Regions from separate parts of the Homo sapiens genome. Here all the other regions are linked to region 1. The links are contacts of gene promoters, found by promoter capture Hi-C in blood cells and fetal thymus (Javierre and others, 2016). All regions are on one chromosome and are shown on one strand. Each heading gives the region's core, a stretch centred on a gene start or on the middle of the fragment in contact. The rest is flanking DNA. Distances are from core to core; before and after follow the strand shown. Region 1 holds the start of LINC01888 (long intergenic non-protein coding RNA 1888). Region 2 overlaps APLF (aprataxin and PNKP like factor). Region 3 holds the start of PLEK (pleckstrin). Region 4 has its middle 14 kb from the start of FBXO48. Region 5 overlaps PLEK (pleckstrin). Region 6 has its middle 37 kb from the start of FBXO48. Region 7 has its middle 48 kb from the start of PLEK.

The links. The method cuts DNA at HindIII sites, captures the fragments that hold promoters and counts their contacts. A CHiCAGO score of 5 or more calls a contact.
Region 2: a fragment that was not itself captured here is called in contact with the fragment with the promoter of LINC01888 in region 1 in 16 of 17 cell types (activated CD4 T cells, naive CD4 T cells, total CD4 T cells and 13 more); the score reaches 17.5 in activated CD4 T cells.
Region 3: the fragment with the promoter of PLEK here is called in contact with the fragment with the promoter of LINC01888 in region 1 in 1 of 17 cell types (neutrophils); the score reaches 6.2 in neutrophils.
Region 4: a contact is called between a fragment that was not itself captured here and the fragment with the promoter of LINC01888 in region 1, in 16 of 17 cell types (naive CD8 T cells, total CD4 T cells, naive CD4 T cells and 13 more). The highest score is 18.6, in naive CD8 T cells.
Region 5: a fragment that was not itself captured here is called in contact with the fragment with the promoter of LINC01888 in region 1 in 3 of 17 cell types (monocytes, naive B cells and naive CD8 T cells); the score reaches 9.2 in monocytes.
Region 6: a fragment that was not itself captured here is called in contact with the fragment with the promoter of LINC01888 in region 1 in 4 of 17 cell types (total CD4 T cells, M2 macrophages, naive CD4 T cells and 1 more); the score reaches 5.7 in total CD4 T cells.
Region 7: a fragment that was not itself captured here is called in contact with the fragment with the promoter of LINC01888 in region 1 in 1 of 17 cell types (monocytes); the score reaches 5.5 in monocytes.

The regions. Positions count from the first base shown.
Region 1 is chr2:68,830,574-68,833,648 of GRCh38, reverse strand. It overlaps LINC01888 (long intergenic non-protein coding RNA 1888), which reads right to left and starts at 1,641. Exons shown (of 2, transcript NR_183895.1): 1 at 1,497-1,641. It overlaps LINC01890 (long intergenic non-protein coding RNA 1890), which reads left to right. Exons shown (of 4, transcript NR_183884.1): 2 at 599-817; 3 at 2,144-2,289. The HindIII fragment of the contact is 9,437 bases long and covers 517-3,075 here.
Region 2 is chr2:68,469,525-68,472,537 of GRCh38, reverse strand. All of the region lies in intron 1 of APLF (aprataxin and PNKP like factor), which reads right to left. Among named protein-coding and RNA genes, the nearest start is that of APLF, 3.4 kb to the right of the region's middle. The HindIII fragment of the contact is 2,738 bases long and covers 1-2,653 here.
Region 3 is chr2:68,363,539-68,366,566 of GRCh38, reverse strand. It overlaps PLEK (pleckstrin), which reads right to left and starts at 1,285. Exons shown (of 9, transcript NM_002664.3): 1 at 1,174-1,285. The coding sequence starts at 1,215. It overlaps LOC101927723 (a long non-coding RNA gene), which reads left to right and starts at 163. Exons shown (of 2, transcript NR_187652.1): 1 at 163-1,152. RefSeq lists an enhancer at 1,246-1,325. The HindIII fragment of the contact is 25,233 bases long and covers 1-3,028 here.
Region 4 is chr2:68,451,334-68,454,321 of GRCh38, reverse strand. No RefSeq gene overlaps it. Among named protein-coding and RNA genes, the nearest start is that of FBXO48, 14 kb to the left of the region's middle. The HindIII fragment of the contact is 539 bases long and covers 982-1,520 here.
Region 5 is chr2:68,389,570-68,392,508 of GRCh38, reverse strand. All of the region lies in intron 6 of PLEK (pleckstrin), which reads right to left. Among named protein-coding and RNA genes, the nearest start is that of PLEK, 26 kb to the right of the region's middle. The HindIII fragment of the contact is 1,194 bases long and covers 876-2,069 here.
Region 6 is chr2:68,428,509-68,431,208 of GRCh38, reverse strand. No RefSeq gene overlaps it. Among named protein-coding and RNA genes, the nearest start is that of FBXO48, 37 kb to the left of the region's middle. The HindIII fragment of the contact is 1,753 bases long and covers 539-2,291 here.
Region 7 is chr2:68,411,451-68,414,501 of GRCh38, reverse strand. No RefSeq gene overlaps it. Among named protein-coding and RNA genes, the nearest start is that of PLEK, 48 kb to the right of the region's middle. The HindIII fragment of the contact is 2,729 bases long and covers 403-3,051 here.

The sequences.
Region 1 (3,075 bases), core at 392-2,891:
GGTTGGATGATCCAATACTAGAATCAGGTAGACGTGGTTTTGATGCTTGCTTCTGTCAGTTATATTTTCTCAGTTCTAAGTAGCCATCAATTTGTAAGATGTTCCATTTTAAATGCACCAATCAACTATAAAATACATACTGAATTTCAAAAGTATTAGAATGAAAAAAAAATGTCTCTTAGAAATGGGATATGAACTGTGAGCCTGAGCAGATTACTTAACCTTTCTAAGTCTCGGTTTTCTCATCTGTAAAATGGGGATGATAGTAGCCGCTGCCTCATAGTTTTCTGTGAAAATTAATTAATACATTGCAGGTAAAGCAGAAAACACCATGCTTAGGGAATTGAAAGCACTCAATATTTGCATTTTTAAAAACTATGTCTTTAGTCAAGCATAACTCTTTTAAAATGCCATTAACTATAGGAGGAAGAATCAGTGTTGTAACATTTTGCTATTCCTTGAGTACAATCTATGTGTACTAAGAAAAGACATCATTGGTAACACAACTACCAAGCTTATCTAGGGATCAGCTATCTCAAGATAGGCATAGCAATTGCTGGATGCCATATGATTTCCATGTATTTTATTTCTCCAATAGCACTCACATTCTTTGGGAGCTGTATTCTAATACTTTCAGAAAAGCCATGGGAACACACCAGAGTGACTGCTCGAGTAAATAAGTAGCATAAACAGCAAGCCAAACCATTGATGTACACATCACTGGGCCCAATACTATGAAATCCCACATAAGAAACTTGAAAGTGAAAGCTGGAATTCTGAGGATACTGGTTTTGCTTAATAAACAGCATTTCAACAGGTGAGTCAACTTAGTATTGCAGAGCGTGGTGTTGGCTTTTTTCTGATTGGGGCTAGTTTTTCATTAAAGGCAATATCTAGCACTGAAATAGACAACAGTACCTAGTCCCAACCACCTGCTTCCTGGTGAGTCAGTTCAAGTTCTCACAATTGTGTCTGTGTCCAGCCCCAGACCAGCTGAGCTGGGTCATGTGCTCACCCAGATCTTTCCCTAAAAGAGGACTGACAGGGAAACCACTGCCCTCTTTCACATCCAGGGAAGGAGTGACTTCTAAGAGAAATAGGGTTTTGTTTCCTCGCCAAAGTGTCAGGAATGATCAAATGTGAAAAACAGAGGGCAAATCCGTGTTAGTGCGTCATTAGGTGGGTGTTTCTAAAGTGATCACATGGTAACACTTCCTCTGCTCGCTGACCCACCAGGAGTGTTTTGGAAACAGTCAGCCCACGTGAAATGGGCTGAAGACATCCCAGTGTCCTCCTCTCAGAAGCTGTGAGCCCCAGTCAGGGCGGGCTGTCTTAGCCTGTAAACGTCCACAGGGCCAGAGCCTATATTTAACTGATGACACATCTTACAAGGGGGAAGGGAAGGGGAATCTGTGACCCTGTTTCCTCCCACCAACACCAGCCCATTCACACAGAGTCTTTTGAAGGTCTCACTGGCAGTACTCCTTCAAACTTACCCAATATGCCCCACTCAAAGGCCCTCCCAGGCTTGTGGGAACAGAAAGATTTCTTGAAATGGAAAGGAGGGTTGTGAATGAGTGAGGAAATTCAGCATGGAGATATGAGAGGCTCACTCTTTAGCCACACGGAACCGGGGACTCCAAGGCAACCCCATTCCCAGAGTTCTTTCGAGGGTGGGGCTAATGACATGGGACCAAGAATTGACTCCAGGAAAGGGCATGGTGATGTGTGGCCTCCCAGACAGCCTCAGAGCAAGCAGGTGGATTTGACTTAGGCTGTGGGGAAGGCAACAGCCTCTGTATATTTTTCCATCTTGATGCTGAGTCAGACAAGGCAGTTAGTGGTTCTTTCCAGAATCCCTGCCAGCCTTTTAAAGAAAAAGTCTTTGCAGATTTTGCTTTAGTCCATCTCTGCCAAGGGGTCATTTTCTATGTTGTACTTCCTCCCTATGTGAGGGCAAGGATAATGTAGCCTTGTGTAGACTGTATATACGCTTCAGTTCCTAGCTAAGCCACATTGAGACCTCAGTAAAACAGGTTTGATTGCAATCAGAAAAGAGTTGATTTGAGATTTAAAGGAAATGACATGGATACAGTGCTCACCAGAAAGTATTAAAATGGTATTTGTTGCTTATTATTGGTAGTTATTGTCATGATATTGCTACTGATGCTGAACAAAGACCCAAGAACCAGGGTGATGTTTAGCATGGGCTGGCCTCAGCAGGACTGAAAGGACATCAATAAGGGAGAACAGAGAGAAGGAAGGAGGACAAGTGCCAACTTTGAGCAGGTATCAGGTGTATGTGGGGGCAAACCATTTCTCCGTCCACCCTGATGATGAGTCCCCGTTTCCCTTTTTAAGGCCTGATTTTTGCACCCTCACCCCACCTAAGGCAGCCAGGGGCCCACACTGCAATACTCCTAGGTAACATCCATACTTTTTTTTTTTTTTTGAGATAGAGTCTCCCACTGTCACCCAGGTTGGAGTGCAATGGCGAGATCTCGGCTCACTGCAACCTCCGCCTCTCAGGTTCACGTGATTCTCCTGCCTCAGCCTCCAGAGTAGCTGGGATTACAGGCGCACACCACCATACCCGGCTAATTTTTTGTATTTTTGGTAGAGACAGGGTTTCACTATGTTGGCCAGACTGGCGTCGAACTCCTGACCTCGTGATCTGCCCGCCTCGGCCTCCCAAAGTGCTGGGATTACAGGCGTGAGCCACTGTGCCTGGCCAACATCCATACTCTTGATCTGTTCCTCCACCCACAGCACTGCTTATCTGGCCAGGCTCTCGTTCCTTCATTACACAGCTTTCTGCTGGGAAGCAGATAACTAATATAAAGATGATACTAACGATTAATGGAGGCTTCATGGAGTCTCCCAGAAATATCACGTTTGTGGTTAATATTCCAAAGGCTACTGGTAGGGATTTCTCAATCTAACATGAGTCTGAAAAAGAGATGATTTTCATCAGAGCTATTCTCGGGACTCTTTAAATCAGGCCCTCAAGTGCTTATCTTCTTTGCCTATGTTTAGAGTCAATCCTTAAAGCAAGTAAACAGTGTCCCCATATAT
Region 2 (3,013 bases), core at 35-2,534, 360 kb after region 1:
CTAAGCTCTGATTATTATTTTTTTTTATCTTGCCCAAATTCCTTTCTAAGGGGTCTGGGGAGTCATGCCCTACAAACCATAAATTCTCATCAGATGAGTTTTATTTAACCCTGTATAACGTGACTTACTTTCCAGTCTGACTCAGGCATAACAAGGAAGAAAATCAAAATGTTTTACCCTAAAATATATTTCTTTGCCATACCTTGGAACTGTCCTGCAAAGTCTCTTGTGGGAAAAACCCACATTCTATAGAGAATTCCCTTTCCCCTTTGTTTTCCTTCCTTCCTTTCCAGATCCAGGAGATAATCAATTAAGAGCCAGGCACTCTTTCAGGTCTCATAAGAAACATTTTACAACCTGCTATCTCTGAAGTCCGCTATCTGAGAGCTCTGCAAAATAAAACTTCGTCTCCACAATCCTTTATCTTAACCTGAACATTTCCTTTGATCTTAGGTCTTGAGATAAACTCAACTAATTGTCAACCAGAAAATGTTTAAATTTACCTATAGCCTGGAAGCCCCTGCTTTGGGTTGTCCTGCCTTTCTGAACCAAACCAATGTATTTCTTAAATGTATTTGATTGATGTCTCATGCCTCCCTAAAATATATAAAAACCAAGCTGTACCCTGACCATCTTGGGAACATGCTCTCAGGACCTCCTGAGGGCTGTGTCACGGGCCATGGTCACTCATATTTGGCTCAGAATAAATCTCTTGAAATATTTTATAGAATTTAACTCTTCATCAACAGACTCATGGTATTTAACCAAAACTTTTAATAAAAATGTGACCTTTTAAAAATCAGTGATTATATCTAAAAATTCAAATTTCTTACTATTCTTAAAAAAACAATATGACACTGTTACCAACTGGGAATAGGGGAAAGTAGCAGGGATTGCATAGAGACCCTCTCCTTGTGGCCTTCCCAACACTGAGGCAGAACTGTTGTCATTTATCACTGTCCCTGTGTTGTTTTTCTTCTTCCCTCCCACTTCGCTTACTCCAAGTGTCAGCCTGGCGCCAGTCCCCATGTGAGGTTGTAGCCTTATTTAGTTACTAATACTTGTTTATTTGTCTCTTAACCCTACAAAACTATAAGTTTCTTGAGAGCAAAGACTTGTTTCTCATTCACCTTTATTTCTCCTATACTCCCTCCCATCCAACCATAGTATATATTTATCAGCTATTTCCTGAATTTAGCGAATTATCAATCAACAAAACAGGAAAAATGTTAAAACTTAATTCATTATGAATGCTACTCAAGATTTAGCAGTTGGTAGGACTGCATCTTTACTATATTTAAATTCACTTCAAAACTCAATGATAACCCTTTTTCATATCTAAGTCACAATTAGGCTCTTTTTGAGGGTAGAGTGAATGAGAGGCTGAGATGCCGAAATGGAAGGAAGAAATCACGTGTTAAAGGCCTACTGTGTGCTAGGCACTGGTTGTAGGCTAAATAATAAAATGAGGGAAGGGCAAATCTAGAAATAAAAGAAACGTAAGGGAAGAAACCTATGTTGGAGCAGGTAGGAACAGCATTCCAGGACAGCCAGGATTCTGCAACAAGCAGTTAAAAGTATAGAGCTGCCAGGTCAGGGGATGGTTACTTTGTGTAAACTTTGTAGAACATTTACAACATTCTTAGAAGTGGTGAACTGATGCCACCTGAAGAGTCTATACTGAAGCCTATGACCTTCCCTGTTCCCCCAACTGAGGACTCTTCTCCTTTTAATCAAAGCAGTCAATTTAATTACATCTACATTGAGAAAGTATCACTAGATATCTTTTGCTATCTTGTTTCCTAGGAGGAAAATAGATCATAAAGAAATGTGTCATATAATCCCTGCTGTCAAAACAAAATAAGAAAAATCTGAAATCAGAAATAGTAGATTTCATTTAAGAGTGTAACAGCTTTAATTAAAACCCATAAAGCAAATACTTTGGCCTAACAGTGCTTGACATGTCGTACTGTAAAACCCTTTTAAATTAAATTTCTTAAGATAATGGTAGATTCACATGTAGTTGAAAGATATAATATAGAAATATCTCTTGTACCATTTATCCAGTTTCCCCTAATGGTAACGTCTTACAAAACTATAGTACAATATATCAACCTAAGATATTGATACTGACACAGTCCAGACAAAGCACATTTCTATCACCACAAATATCCCTCATGTTGCTATTTTATAGCCATATCCATTCCCTTCTGCCCTGCTGCCTAATTTTTTAACCTTTGGCAACCACTAATCTGTTCTCCATTTTTGAAATTTTGCAATTTCGCAATTTCAATGATGTTATATAAATGGAATCACACAATATGTAATCTTTTGGATTGGCTGTTTTAACTCAAGTTCTCTGAAGATTAATCCTGCTGTAAAACCTTCTAACTGATGCCAATCATGGAGCAGAATCAAAATCTAGTAAACAAAGACCTGGGGTTCTCTGATGACTCACATGAAAGCAAAGGGAACAAGAAAGATTAAATTTCATTGTCCTTTGTTCTCTGTGACAGGTTTCTCTGTTGTGTTTTCCTACCACCATAAAAATACAAAACCATTCTCATTGTCAAACTGTTTTACTACCAAGACTATTTTACACAGTCAGATTATAAACTTTTATGTTTGTGTGGCCATCAAGGTTTGTGAAGCTTGTCTCAGAAAAACATGCCCAATTAAGAAAGTTCAAAATCATCCTTATTTATATTAATCGTTTCCGATTCCAATTTACAATGAACTTACTGAGTTTTCCACTTAGAACTCAGTCTTCGCTCTCTCACAATACAAAAATAAATCTCACTGGAATTGCTGTTGTTGGAAACAGGAGCCCTTATGTTGTGTTTTAACCAGTGCAGAGAAGAATCGAGTGCATCTGTCAGCTCCAAAATCGAAAAAACTACAAGGCGATTTGTTTGTTCTCCAAATTTTTCCTTTAACACACTTAGGATGTCATTCATAACCACTTCTGATACACGCCAACCTTGGCAAAAGAATCTCATCCCTGAATGTTATT
Region 3 (3,028 bases), core at 36-2,535, 470 kb after region 1:
TTAAGAAAATGCTGGAGTAATGAACAAAGTTCAGTGCCATGAATCAGAAACCTAAGCATCAGAGAAGGAGTGGCTGGTCACAACTGTCATAGCCATGTGACTTGGGGCAATCACCGAGCCTTCTGGGTCTGTCTCCTCTTCTGCAAATGAAGGAATTAGGCCAGATGACCTAGGGTCCCTCCAGCCTGAAGTCAAAATGGAAGCAGGCAGCAATGTGTGCTATTTAACCCCCCTTACAGGTAGAACATTGTAGGTTAAAACGTGAAACAAATGAGTAGCCTAAAACAGACTCACATTCACTGTTCATTCAACTAAAAAGCTAAGCACCTGAAGGAAGGCACTACGTTCAGCTCATTTCTGAAACAATCCACTCACTAAGGTTAGTGTGAGCATATCTGTGTATATAGGTGTTGCCCACAGGACACCAAGTCCTATGTGTGAATTCACATCCCGGGGAGCTTTCACAACCACACAGCACACACTCAGCATCCGAAGAAAGACAAACAGCACTAAGAAAATTCAATTTTCATGATGCACACCAGGGAGGCTAAGCCTTTTTCAGTACCCTAATCTTTAAAATGGTGCATCTACCACCTCGATGCCACATTATGCAAATTTACTAAGAATTGTGAGTGAAGAGATTTCAGCCCAATTAAAAAAAGATAAGGTTTTTTTTAAACGTGTCAATTCCAAGAAGATGGCCCAAGAAATAAGCCGTAATTACTCTATCATTATATCAACTCTTTAATCACTTTTTTCCCCTTGCCTCCCAAAAAAAGAACTGAGGGGAAGTGGAATTTAAATAAAAAATGAATAGTCCCTCCAAGAAACCTCCATAGAAGAGGAGTATATCTTCTGACAGAACACATCTGTGTGCCTCTTAAAAAGGATATTCTAAATCTGGAGGGAGTTAGCTTAGATCCCCACCTTCCAGGCCCTGCCATCTGGAATTCTCAGACCCGTAATATCAAACTGTAAGGAAGCCGGGGCTGGATGAGTATCCCCACTCCCCTAACCCCACTCCAACATTCTATGTGCTACCACGCTCCCCTATTTCAACCCAACTGGTTGAACAGGAAACATTCCTAAGATGAGCAGGTAGCCGGTGGAGCTGAACCCAAGTCTCCCCAGCCCATGTCCACTGACACCCTGGTAAGTGGCACCTTCGCTCACCTTCTTCACAAGGTAGCCCTCTCTGATCCGCTTTGGTTCCATGCTGGCTGGACAGGCAGATGCAAAGGTCACTCTCAGGCAACTCCTCTCAGCAGCTGGGCCTCCTCTGCATGCTGAGGTGGCTGTGGGCCGCCTTTTCTACAGCAGGTCGCTTTCACAATTTCCCTTCTGCTGGCGGTCGCATGATCACATCCTCTTCCCCTCACTGGGTTGGAAGATCAGAATAAGGAACTGCAGAGTAAACCACCCATTCCTTGCTAATGCTGGAGACTTATTAAAACCACAGTTGGGTTGAATATTTACCTAAGGGAAATTCTTACTACCATACAGAAAATCCCTCTTTTAAAGAGAAAAAGAAGTGATGAAAGGAAGAGGAAGATGAACAAGAAAAACTTGTTGGTGAAAATTGTCCTGAGTAAGGATTATTCTTGAGATCCTGGAAATGCCCAATAAAAATGCCAAGAAATTCAGAACCATCTGGTTAGCATAACAAAGTTAACTACTAAATGAATGCCTACTTCTCTCTATGCCAAGCCCTGTATCAAGTGTTTCTCAGCCTACTTATTTTAAACTAAATTAGTCTGCACATCGGCCAGGCATGGTAGCTCACGCCTGTACTCCCAGCACTTTGGGAGGCCAAGGCAGATGGATCACCTGGGGTCAGGAGTTCAAGACCAGCCTGGCCAACATGGTGAAACCTTGTCTCTACTAAAAATACAAAAATTAGCCGGGCATGGTGGCGTGTGCCTGTAGTCCCAGCTACTCGGGAGGCTGAGGCAGCAGAATCACTTGAACCTGGGAGGCGGAGGTTGCAGTGAGCCGAGATTGGTCCACTGCACTCCAGCCTGGGCGACAGAGAAAGACTTCATCTCAAAACAAACAACAACAAAAATGAGTCCACACATCAAACCCATAGGGAAAGTATATTATTTTCCTTATCTTAGAGTAAGGAAACTCAGGCTCAGAGAAGAAAAGTTGTCTCAAGTTGACGCTGCAGGTCACAGGGGAAAGCAGAAGAACCAGGGAGGGATGTGCTAGGGTGCCACTGCCTCACATCAGGCATGAGAACAGGTGTTCCACGTTGAGTGCTGATCTCACAGTCAGCCTGTAAAAAGAAGTCCATCATCAAACAGGTTTTTGAGAAACTTTACAAAATAATCCCAGGTTGGCAACTCCTCTAAATGATGAACAAATTAAAGACCTTCGCCCCGCCAAAGTACTACAGTAAAGAATCCTATAATGGTGTTTTCCAAACTTACTTCGCCATAGCATTCTTTTTTGAACAATTTATGTTAACTTTTTTTGTCATAAATTGAATTAGATCTCCCAAAAAAGAAGTCCTAACCCTTAGCACTTCAGAATGCATCCTTATTTGGAAATAGGGTCATTGTAGATATAATTAGTTAAGATGAGGTCATACTGAAACAAGTGGGCCCTTAATCCAATGTGACTGGTGTCCTTATAAGAAAAGGGCACACAGAAAACAGCCATGTGACAACAGAGTGATGCATTTACAAGCCAAGGAACGCCAAGGATGGCCAGCAACCCCCAGAAGCTGGAAGAGGCACGCAACAATTCTCTCCTAGAGTTGCTATAGAGAACATGGTGCTGACGACACCTTGATTTCAGACTTACGGCCTCCAGAACTGTAAGACAATAAATTTCCATTGTTTTAAGCCACCAGTTTGTGGTACTTTGTTATGGCAGCCCCAGGAAACCAATATAATCCTGAAAAACGAATATTCCATAGAATAAACTTAGAGACCCGTTAATCTGACCATGTGAAAATGAGCAAGTTTGTTATTACTTTGTGCCTCAGTTTTCTCATCTGTAATACGGGGATAATAACACCTAT
Region 4 (2,988 bases), core at 2-2,501, 380 kb after region 1:
GGGTTGCAGCCTGCAGGCTGGCCATCCCACAGCCTGGGAAGGGTAGCTTCTGGCAGAAACCAGAAGCAGGTACTTCTAGGGAGGGAAGGGTAAGACAGGAATTTAGGCTGAAAGGGTCAGCTAAGTATATACATTTAACAGGCTATAGGAGGAGCTATGAATATTCACAAAAGGGGAGTGCACTCATGCACAGCAAGCTAACATGTATGTTACCTACATCCTATGTTCACTTTAGGATGGAAACTTAACATTTAAATGTATTAAAATTAGGCTCTATACGTCAAAAGCTGAAACAGAGGACACAGAAGCATCCTGTGTGCAGCTTCTGTAAACCGGCCAGAACCAGTCCATGGTTAGTGGCCTCTTATCAGGAAGGAATGATGGTCAGTTGTTGTGTCAAACTGCAAAAAGGAAGAAGAGTCCAGCAAGTCTTCAGAAAGGGCCTGTTTCTGTTTAACACTTAGGAGTGGAAGTATAATGGCAAGTAGCAAGGGAGGGAGTATAACAGGGCATGTCTGACCTCCCAATCCATCATGGCTGGGAATTCAGCTTTTAAGATTTCTCTAGGATCTCCTTAGCCAAGAGGGGAGTCCTTTTAGTCAGTTGCAGGGGGGACCTTTGGATTTTATTTTCGTTTCTCAGTTGAAAGCCTAGCAGTTAAGACTTCTGAGTCTTCTATGCTTGAAAAAAGTCTTTTGAAATTCAAAGCTGAGTTCTGACTTCTTTATTCTCGGCTGTACCTACCAGACCCACAAAGCACTGGATGCCTGTCTTTCCAGGCAGAGAGCTGCAGAGAAATAAGAATTACTGGGCATGGAAAATACAGCGGAATGTATTACAAAAAAAAAACAACCCATTCTAGTATTACTCTACACAATAAAATAATGCTGGAAAAGGAAGAAAGAGTAAAAACTATAAAGAACAGCTGAGACAGAAGAAGGTAATAAACAAGGCATGCGGGTTGGGTTTCTAATAAAAGCTTGACATCCTTATATTGAGTTCTACCACAAGTAAAACTGACTTTTTTCATGAACCTGTTTGCATTTTCCAATACCTCCTTGTCCTTACCCAGTCAGGGCCGGATGGAAATAAAAAAAGATAAAACTGCAGTTTTACAAGTACCACACCAATCATACTGTATTATCATAAACATTAACTGCTCAAGAAAAAATTTTTCTTAATTAATTAATTTAGTTATTTATTTTTAGAGACTGGGTCTCACTATGTTGCCCAGGCTGGCCTCGAACTCCTGAGCTCAAGCAATCCTCTCCCCTCAACCTCCCAAAGTGCTGGAATTACAAGCATGAACCACTGTTCTGGCCCAAAAGAAATTTTTAATAATCATTTTCTGAGGCCTACTTTTCTGCTATGGGTCTTCTGTGCCTTGTAGGGGAAAAAAACCCAGCTGCTGGTTTCCCAGTTTGCTCATTTTGATTTACTTTTAATATGACAAAATTATACAGTCCATTTGTCACACAATGAAATCCTGATAGAAAATATGTAAAACCATAAAAGAAGCTTTCTAAAAATCACACGTGAGAATCTCCCCCACTTATTGCTGTGGTTGTGTTTTTTTGTTGCCTAACAAGTAGATTGAGCACAATTTCCTGTCTTTATTCTCATTGGTTAGTGAAGAAAATAAAAAGGACTGCTTTTGCCATTGTTTTCCTGTGTATGGCCTACTTTTTTCATCAGTTCAACTTTTTTTTTTCTCTCTCAGACTTTTATTATATATTTTTAAACGTGCTTTCTCCCTAAATGTTTTATTTTGAAAGTTTTCACTCTTACAAAAAATTTCAAAGTCTAGAATATGGCATCATCACCTAGATTAACCAATTGTTAACTTTAACCATGTGTGCTTTATCTCTGTCTATACCAGGTCCCTAAACTTTATCACTATTAACATTCTGGGCTGGATAATTCTTTGTTTGGGGGAGGGGCAGGGGTGCTGTCGTATACACTGTAGAATGTTTAGCAGCACCGCTGGCCTCTATTCATTAGATGCCAGTAGCACCACTTCCCAAGTGCTGGCAACCAAAAATGTCGCCAGACATTGCCAAATGTCTCCTGGGGGAAAATCCCTCTTGTTAGGAACTACTGGTTTATACTACATTTTAAAAAAACACCTAAATGTCCATCAACCAAGAAGAGTGGATAAAGAATAGATATCTATAATATGTATATTTATATATAATATATATTATATATTTTATATATAATATATATAATTTATATATAATATATAATATATATTTTATATATTATATATTATATATATTATATATAAAATATATATTTAATATAATATATAATATAATATATATATATTTTATATAATATATAATATATATATTTTATATAATATATAATATATAATATATAAAATATATATTTAATATAATATATAATATATTATATATAATATGTAATATATAATATATAATATATTATATATAATATGTAATATATAATGTATATTATATATTATAATATATAATATATATTATATAATATACATTATATATAATATATATTATATATAATATACATTATATATAATATACATAATATACATTATATATAATATACATAATATACATTTTATATATAATATATATAATATACATTTTATATATAATATATATAATATACATTTTATATATAATATATATAATATACATTTTATATATAATATATATAATATACATTTTATATATAATATAAAATTATATATAATATACATTTTATATATAATATAAAATTATATATAATATACATATTATATATAATATAAAATTATATATAATATACATATTATATATAATATAAAATTATATATAATATACATTTTATATATAATATAAAATTATATATAATATACATATTATATATAATATAAAATTATATATAATATACATATTATATATAATATAAAATTATATATAATATACATATTATATATAATATAAAATTATATATAATATACAT
Region 5 (2,939 bases), core at 223-2,722, 440 kb after region 1:
TGGACAGAGATTTAGTGGAAATAAAAGGCAGGGTTTGTTGTTGATGGCTTTTGAGTAGGAAGTGAAAGAATTACAATTACATTTTAAGAAGATTAATATGGTGACAAAGTGCAGGATGGACCAGCTGGCTAGATTAAAGGAAAGCCCAGGAAAAGATGGTAAGTAAAAAAGAATTCATTAGGGAAGGATCACAATAATCCAGGCATAAAATCATTAGGAACTAAACCTTAGGTAGCTGCAGTAGGAATGGAAATGCCTGTTGCTGTAACAGACATGATGAAGGAAGAAGAAGAGGCGGAAGAGGAGGAGGAGGAGAAAGAAGAAGAAGAAGAAGGAGGAGGAGGAGAAAAGGGGGAGGAAGGTAGGAGGAAGGAAAGAGGAAGGAAGAAAGAAAGAAGAAGAAGAAAGAAGGTGACGACTTGGCCTTTCCCAACAGAATTAAACACTGACATTGTCTAGACTGAGTTTTAAGGGCAGGATTTGTGTCTTGCTTATCTTTGTTTCCCAGGGCCACAGTGCCTGGCATATAGCAGCTGCTTCATATCTGTTTGTACTTGCTGTGAGTTACCAAGTTATTTCCATTAGTGTGTAGCAGATTTTAAACTGTCATGGTAAACCTGACTCTATGATTTCCCACAGGAAATTCAAATGACTTAACTCCAGAAGCCAAAAATAGTATTATATTAAAAGATACGGAGTTTCTATCTTGCCAATACAAGAAATATTATTTGTAATTTCTAAAGCACCACATATTGGCAAGCATGTATACAAATTTTCCAACATTTTTCATTTTACTTGTGCTGAAAGCAATAAAACATGTGTGGTCTTAGCAAACAGTGCCTCCTTCATAAATCCAGAGGTGCTTCAAGGAAGCTTTCAGAAATGGGCCTAAGTTTTTTGGCAAAACATTTGGTGAAGGAACTCACTTCCAAAGAACTTTCTACTTCCTGAAGGATGGAGCTGGAACCCCTGCAGAGTCATATGCAAGGACAGAAAATATTCCTACCTGCTATATCATGTCCAAAATGGCTTTTGCAAAGCATAGACTTCCAAAAGTATACATTGCTGCTCTTTGCCTTAACTAATGTTGCCCTTCAGAATAACGACACTAAAGTTGCCACCCCATACCATTTCCTCTTCACTGACAGACACACATGTCATGCTGTATTATGCAATTGCTGGACAATCACCAACTTATTATGAGCCAATGGAAGAGGAAGGTAACAGGAGGATGTGAAATCAGCCAACCACCATATTCCCTTTAAGCCCTCACTGACATCACAATGTGACGTGTTGAAGAGTTGGAAGTTAGCAGGTACATTTCTGGTCATCTTTCACTTAATGAGCATTTTCTAAGGAGTATTAAGAAATGCATGTATGCCTCAGGTTTCCAAGAATTGTTACTGAACTGTCAAAGCCATCTACTTATATTTGACTTAATTAGCTCCCCAAGTGTTCATTGCCTATGATAAATCAAGAAGGATGCTGAACTCTGCAGCAGATACAAGAGAAGCATATATAACACATTGTTCCTCTCCCTCAAGGAATCTAAATGTGGTTGAGAATTAAACAAGCAGATGCTTTATTCATTGTCATAACAGAAACAATTATGTAAAAAGGGATTATACTGAATATAATCTAAGATCATTCATCCTCAAACTTGCTGCCAAGTAGGATTATTTATCCTGGGATGAGAAAATAATGGGGCAGGGATAATGGCCTCCAGTTAGCCACAGCTACTTCCCATCTGTGAGGCTTCCCATTATAACAAGCCTTCTATGAAGTTAATCCTGGCTAACTCCCAGCAGTAAACACAAGGGAGGCTTACTTTTGGAATTTTAAGAAAAAGTTTTTAAAATTCTGAAAATCCCTTGGGTGATTTTGATGTAAACTATGGTTACTAACCACTGAGCTAAGAGATTAGAAACATTAAGGGGAAGTGTCAATTCAAATCGAAGAGGTTTTTGCTCCCCAACCTCTGAAAAAAAATTCAGAGGAAAGAATATTGTAAAAGAACAAAATTCCTGAATGCACGTAGATTTCTGTTTTCTTCACATAAAAAGGAAGCTTCTAAGAAAGACTATTTAACTTGTATACTGATAATAGAATAAATTAGCTTTTAAGAAAAAGGCTGGCTCAGTGGTTCTCAGCTTTGGCTGCACATCAGAATCACTTGGGAGCTGTAAAAATCCAGAGGCTCTGATTAAATTGGCCTGGCATGCAGTTTTAACAGTTCCCTGGGAGATCCAAATGTGCACCAACCGAGCTAGCTAAGGCTAAATTGTACCTATCAAAGGCCAGACAAAGGAAGGCAAAGGAAAACACATAAGTTCAATCCTTGTCCCTATTGTCTTCAAAATACATCCAGACACTCATTACCCACACACAATTTTTGACCATCCCAGGTCTCCTACTGGGCTGCTTCACTGAGACGTGGCTCCAGTCCAGTCCCAACTTTATCTACTGTTAGCCTTCATCCTTGGCTTTCCAAGAGCCCCATTCTAGATTAGGGTTTGCCCAATCAACTAATTCAAGAAATAACTGATAACAATATAGAATTATGGAAGAAATCAACAAAATAAAGAAATTTCCTCCCAAGTTACTCTTCTTGTCTTAACAGCCACATTCCAGCACCTGCAATCAAAGAGCCAGGAACATAGGAATATTTGGCAAAACCAACGAGAAAGCAGCAGCGGGCAAACTGTCCGTAGGCAACTGCCCGAGCCTTCCCGGCATAAGGCTGGCTCTGCCCCATGCCTTTCTTTTAATCTAGCCAGCTGGTCACCCTGTCATAAAAAAATACTATAATAGTCCATGAATTCTTTATAAATTCTTGCCATATATTTCTTAGGACACTGTTCTCTTAAAACCTGATATGAAGGTAATTTTTCCATTCGAATGTCCCACTTCCCCCTGTGAAACTCAAAATCCATACCTAT
Region 6 (2,700 bases), core at 166-2,665, 400 kb after region 1:
CCAGACTGGGTAACATTGTAAGACCCTGTCTCAAAAAATATATTAAAAAAGCAAATGGAGAGAATGTGAGGAGAATCATCTGTGAAGGAAACTGGAAGGTCTTTTCCAATTTCTAACCATACAGTGGGCCCTGAGAAAACACCTTTATAGAGAGAGAATGATTAGAACATTCTCTCTAATAATAATGATAGTCACATGAATGTCTGTAAATGTATAGGCAACAGGATAGTATCAATAAGTTGAATATGCCTTTAACAAGCTGAATGTACCTTATTCTTTAGCCTTCTTGAAAATAAAAGCCTAACCTAGTCATCTACCTGCATGGGGAGAATAGGGTGGAATTAGAAGTGCAGATAGGTTGTAATTAGAGGCTTTTAGTGGCTGACAATCACTGAGCATCTGTTGAAAGATAAGTGAATAGTAAAATTAGAAAATTACAGCCTCCATCAAGGAATGCAGCCCTCCCAACATCTCGAGACCCATTTCAGACTTATAACCTCCAGAGCTGTGAGATAATAAATTTGTGTTGTTTTAAGCTTCTAAATTTGTGGTTACTTGTTACAACAATAGGAAACTCATACAATAATTTTTATAGAAAGAATATACAATTAAATGCAAAAAGTACACTCATCTTAAGTGTACAGCTTGAAGAGTTGTCTTCCACATATTAATTGAGTGTAGCTAATTCATAGACCAAGTCATAGCACATCCCAGCAGCAGCCTATGATTCCCTCCTGCAACTGCCCAATTTGTACACTGCACCCCTAAAAGGAAAGAAAAATTCATACATTCAAAATACTTCTCACACCAAATGTGTGGAGTTTACCTCACATTAAGCAATTCTCCAACTCTCCAGATACCAAGTGGGTGTACTACAATTTACTCATGACACTAACTACCCAGAGTTAGTGCAGACCCCATAGGTTGAGGACTCAGCCTCGCAAGGCTGAAACCAAATTTAGACACCAGTCAGTAGTCCCAAACTGTGACCTGTCCATCTGGCTAACTAGCTATCCATTGGGGGTTGCCATGACCTTCTCTTTAGGTTTGATAATTTGCTAGAATGGCTCACAGGACTCAAGAAAGTGCTTTACTTACAATTAGCAGTTTATTTTAAAGGATACCACTTAAGATCAGCCAGATGAAGAGATACACAGGACAAAGTATGAGGGTGGAGCTGAGAGGTTCCGTCCTGCTCCACATGCTGCACCCTCCCAGCAGGTCTGTGTTTCCACCAACCTGAAGTCCTCCAAGTCCTGTCAGTTAGGGGGTTTATGGAGTTTCTATTCGGTAGGCATGATTGACTAATTAGTGGTCCCCAACCTTTTTGGCACCAGGGACCAGTTTCATGGAAGACAATTTTTCCACAGATGGGGGGTGTGGTTTCAGGACGATTCAAGCACATTACATTTATCATTCAATTCTCATAAGGATGACGCAACCTAGATCCCTTGCATACTCGGTTCACAATAGGATTCACACTCCTACGAGAATCTAATGCTGCTGCTGATCTGACAGGAGGCGGAGCTCAGGCGGGAATCCTTGCTCACCCACTGCTCGCCTCCTGCTTTGCAGTCCAGTTCCTAACAGGCCATAGACTGGTACTGGTCCACAGCCTGGGGGTTGGGGAACCCTGGACTAAATCATGGGCCATTGGTGACTGAGCTCAATCTCCAGCCCTTCTCCCCTCTCCAGAGGTTGGGGGAGGGAGGGAGTGCTGAAAGTTCCAACCCTGTAATCAACCATGTGATTCCTCTGATAACCACCAGCCTCCAAGAGTCACTTCATGAAAACAAACTCACATATGATGAAATAATATACAATAATTAATATAGATAACAAAAGACATTCCTCTTGCCTTTATCATCCAGGATTTTACAAGTGTTTAGGAGCTATGTGCCAGGAAATGGGGATGAAGACCTAATATATGTTTCTTATATTCTTAATGTATCACAATACCACAGCCTCCAAAAGTAATCTCTATTCTGACTTTTATAAATGTTGATTAATATTGCCTGAATTTAAACTTCACATAATTAAAATCATATAATTAATTCCTGCAAGATAGTGATTTAAAATAAGTCAGAAGTACTTTTTATTCCTGGCAATCTTTCTTACTCCCTTAGCCCCTTCAGAGAATAGTGAAGAACTCAGCTGCAAAAAAATTGATGTCAACTTTAGAGATAATAGTTATGAAAGCCAATGTTTTTCTTATCAAGTGCCAGGTTTTATTGCGAGAAGAAAGGAATTTTGAGTTTAGTTGAGCCAGAGCTAGAGGAGTATACCAAGCTTGTCTGACCCATGGCCTGTGGGCTGTATATGACCCAGGATTGCTTTGAATGTGACCCAACACAAATTCATAAGCTTTCTTAGAACACTGAGAGTTTTTTGTGATTTTTTTTTAGCTCATCAGCTATTGTTAGTGTTCTTGTATTTTATGTGTGGTCCAGGACAATTCTTGATCTTCCATTATGGCCCAGGGAAGCCAAAAGATTGGATATCCCTGGAATTTAGCATAGAATTCGTTTTAAAAGTTAACTAGACTTCCTGTCTCTGAACTTACAGTTTTTTCCTTAAAGGCCCCTGAACAACTGCACAGGCCATTCATCACTGTGTATGAGTCCATACACATATTATCACCAGGTGTCCCACTCAAATTCTGTCTGTAGGAAAGACTGCCCTTTGCTTTCAAGGCCAACC
Region 7 (3,051 bases), core at 518-3,017, 420 kb after region 1:
AAACTCACATCAATACACAGGATACCTTGGAGATATCACAGATTCAGTTCCAACCACCGAAATATCACAATAAAGGGAGTCACACAATTTTTTTGGTTTCCCAGTGCATATAAAAGTTATGTTTACACTACACTGTAGTCTATGAAGTATGCAATAGCATTATGTCTAGGAAAACAATGTACGAACCTTCATTTAAAAGTGCTTTATTGCTAAAAAATACTAACAATCATCTGAGCCTTCAGTGAGTCACAATCTTTTTGCTGGTGGAGAGTCTTGCCCCAGTGTTGAGGGCCTTGCTCTGGATTAGGCTTTAGCTTAAGGGAATATCATGACTGGTTTGATTTTCTTTTTTGAGACAGGGTCTCCCTCTGTCACCCAGGCTGGAGTGCAGTGGCACAAGCTTGGCTCACTGCAGCTTTGACCTCCCAGGCTGAAGAGATCCTCCCACCTCAGCCTTCCAAGCAGCTAGGACCACAGGCTAATGCCACCACAGCCGGCTAATTTTTTGTATTTTTTTTATTTGGGTTTCACCATGTTGCCCAGACTGGTCTCAAACTCCTGAGCTCAGGCGATCTGCCCACCTAGGCCTCCCAAAATGCTGGGATTACAGGTGCGAGCCACCATGCCAGGCCTGATTTTCTATCCAGGCCACTAAAACTTTCTCCATAGCAGCAATAAGGCTGCTTCACTTTCTTACCATTAATGTGCTCACTAAAGTTACACTTTTAATTTCCTCCAGATACTTCTCCTCTGAATTCACAACTTGGCTAACTGTCTGGCACACAAGTCCTAGCTTTCAGCCTGTCTCAGCTGTCAGCACGCCTTCCTCACTAAGAGTAATCATCTCTAGCTTTTGACTTTAAGTGACAGATGTGCGACTCTTCCTTTCACTTGAACACTTAGAGGCCATTGTAGAGTTATTAATTGGCCTAATTTCAATATTGTTGTGTTTCAGAGAATAGTGAGGCCTAAGGAAAGGGAGAGAGATGGGGAAACAGCCAATCAGTGGAGCAGTCAACAGATATTTACTAAGTTTGTGGACTTAGATGGGCATGGTTCATAGTGTCCCAAAACAATAACAATAGTAACCTCAAAGATTACTGATCACAGATCACCATAACAGATATAATAAGCATGAAAAAGTTTGAAATATTGCAGGAATTACCAAAATGTGCCACAGAGACACAAAGTGAGTGCATGCTGTTGGAAAAATGGTGCTGATAGACTTACTCCATGCAGGGTCGCCAGAAACCTATAATTTGTAAAAAAAAAAAAAAAAAAAAAAAAACAAACAAAAAAACAAAAAACAAACAAACAAAAAAGCAATATCTGAGGAGCACAATAAAGCAACATGCAGTAAAACAAGGTATTCCTGTATAAGGAGCCTCCTCATGATAACAGTAATTACTTCATTCCATCAGCTATTGATAATGTACCCACTATGCACAAGCACCATGTTAAGCATCAGAAAGGATTGAAAAAATTATGAAGCACGAATACTTTTCTGACCCCAAAAAACACCAACCCTAAAACATCCAACACGATATGTGACTATTTGTAAATGCCTGGTGCAAATAGATGGTAGAGATATTCTGTGGCAGACGGTCTATCATGGAAGTGGGGAAAAGTACAATGAATAACAGGGAGGGCTAAGCCTTCAAGAAAAAAGAAGAATAAGAGAAACAGAGAGCTGGAGCAGAGAATGTTCTAGGCCATGGGGTTATATAGGCAAGTCAAGGTTGCAAAAGCTGACAATCCTCCAAGGACCAACAAGAGGCCAGTATGTCTGTAGTGAAGGAGAGCAGAGGGGAAATCCTTCTGGAAAGGGAAGTCAGGGCCAGTTTGTGAAGGCCCTTAAATGCTAGGCTATTGCATCAGTGTCTGAACTGTAAGCAGTGGAGAGTCAAGCAATTTATCGGTAGTTTTTAACTTTAATTTTGGTAGAAATTACCGATCATTTTTTTAAAAAGCAGCAGTGCAAGTATATAGACCCTACCGCATGCTTAGGAAATCAGAATTCCTAAAGTTGGGCCTCAGGCATAAGTTCCATGAAAAAAATTCCACAGGCAATTCTGACATAGACCAAAAGTTGAAAGCCACTACTACAGAGTGTAGATTGCCATGAGTACCTTCTACAGCAGAGGGGTCAGAGGAAAGGAAACTAGAACTTGTGGAGTGCCACCCATTTCAGGTGACTTACAGGTATTATTTCATTTAGTCCTAACAACAAGCCTATGAGAAGAATACTATTTTCGTTTTAGAGACAAAGAAACTGATACTCAAGATATGTCACAAATGCAGTAAAACCAGGAATTCAAACTGAGGCTCCAGGCTCCAAGACCACTGCCTTTCCCACTCTACCACTTGACCTCCCATTAACAGCCTTGTGCATTTTCCCCTTGAAACTTACTGCAGCTCAAATTAAATAGCAAATGTGGTGTTAGAAAAACTCTCCTCCCATCCTCTTTTTTCTCCCTCAGTGACAGCTAAATTTTACCTTCCCTTTACCCTGAAACTGAGCCAAAACCACTGAGGGCTATAATTTCACACTAGGTTTATTTTTTTAAAGAAGCTAAATTAACTTCCTCATAACTTTCTTTCTCTTTCTTCTACGCTTTCCTCTATGACATCTCCCAATACACCTTGCAGTTCTGAAATTCCTTATTTAAAGCAGAACCCAAAATGGAATCCAAAATATTAAGTAATTACTTTAGTGATTTTCTTTTTACCCTAAGGCTGATGAGGATTGTCTATATCAGGTTTCACACAACATCCAAAAGAAATGATGATGACCCTCTGTTTAGCTTGCTACAAACAAACACGAAGAGACTAGGGTTTTCTTTGTCTGTTTGTTTTTTAGAGATGAGGTCTCACCATGTTCCACAGGCTGGAGTGCAGTAACTATTCATAGGCATGATGATTGCATACTACAGCCTTGAACTTCTGGTCTCAAGGGATCCTCCTATCTCAGTCTCTCAAGTAGCTGACAAGCATATACCACCTTGCCTGGCTCACTGTTGCTATTTTAACCCAAGGAAGTTCCTCATTCTG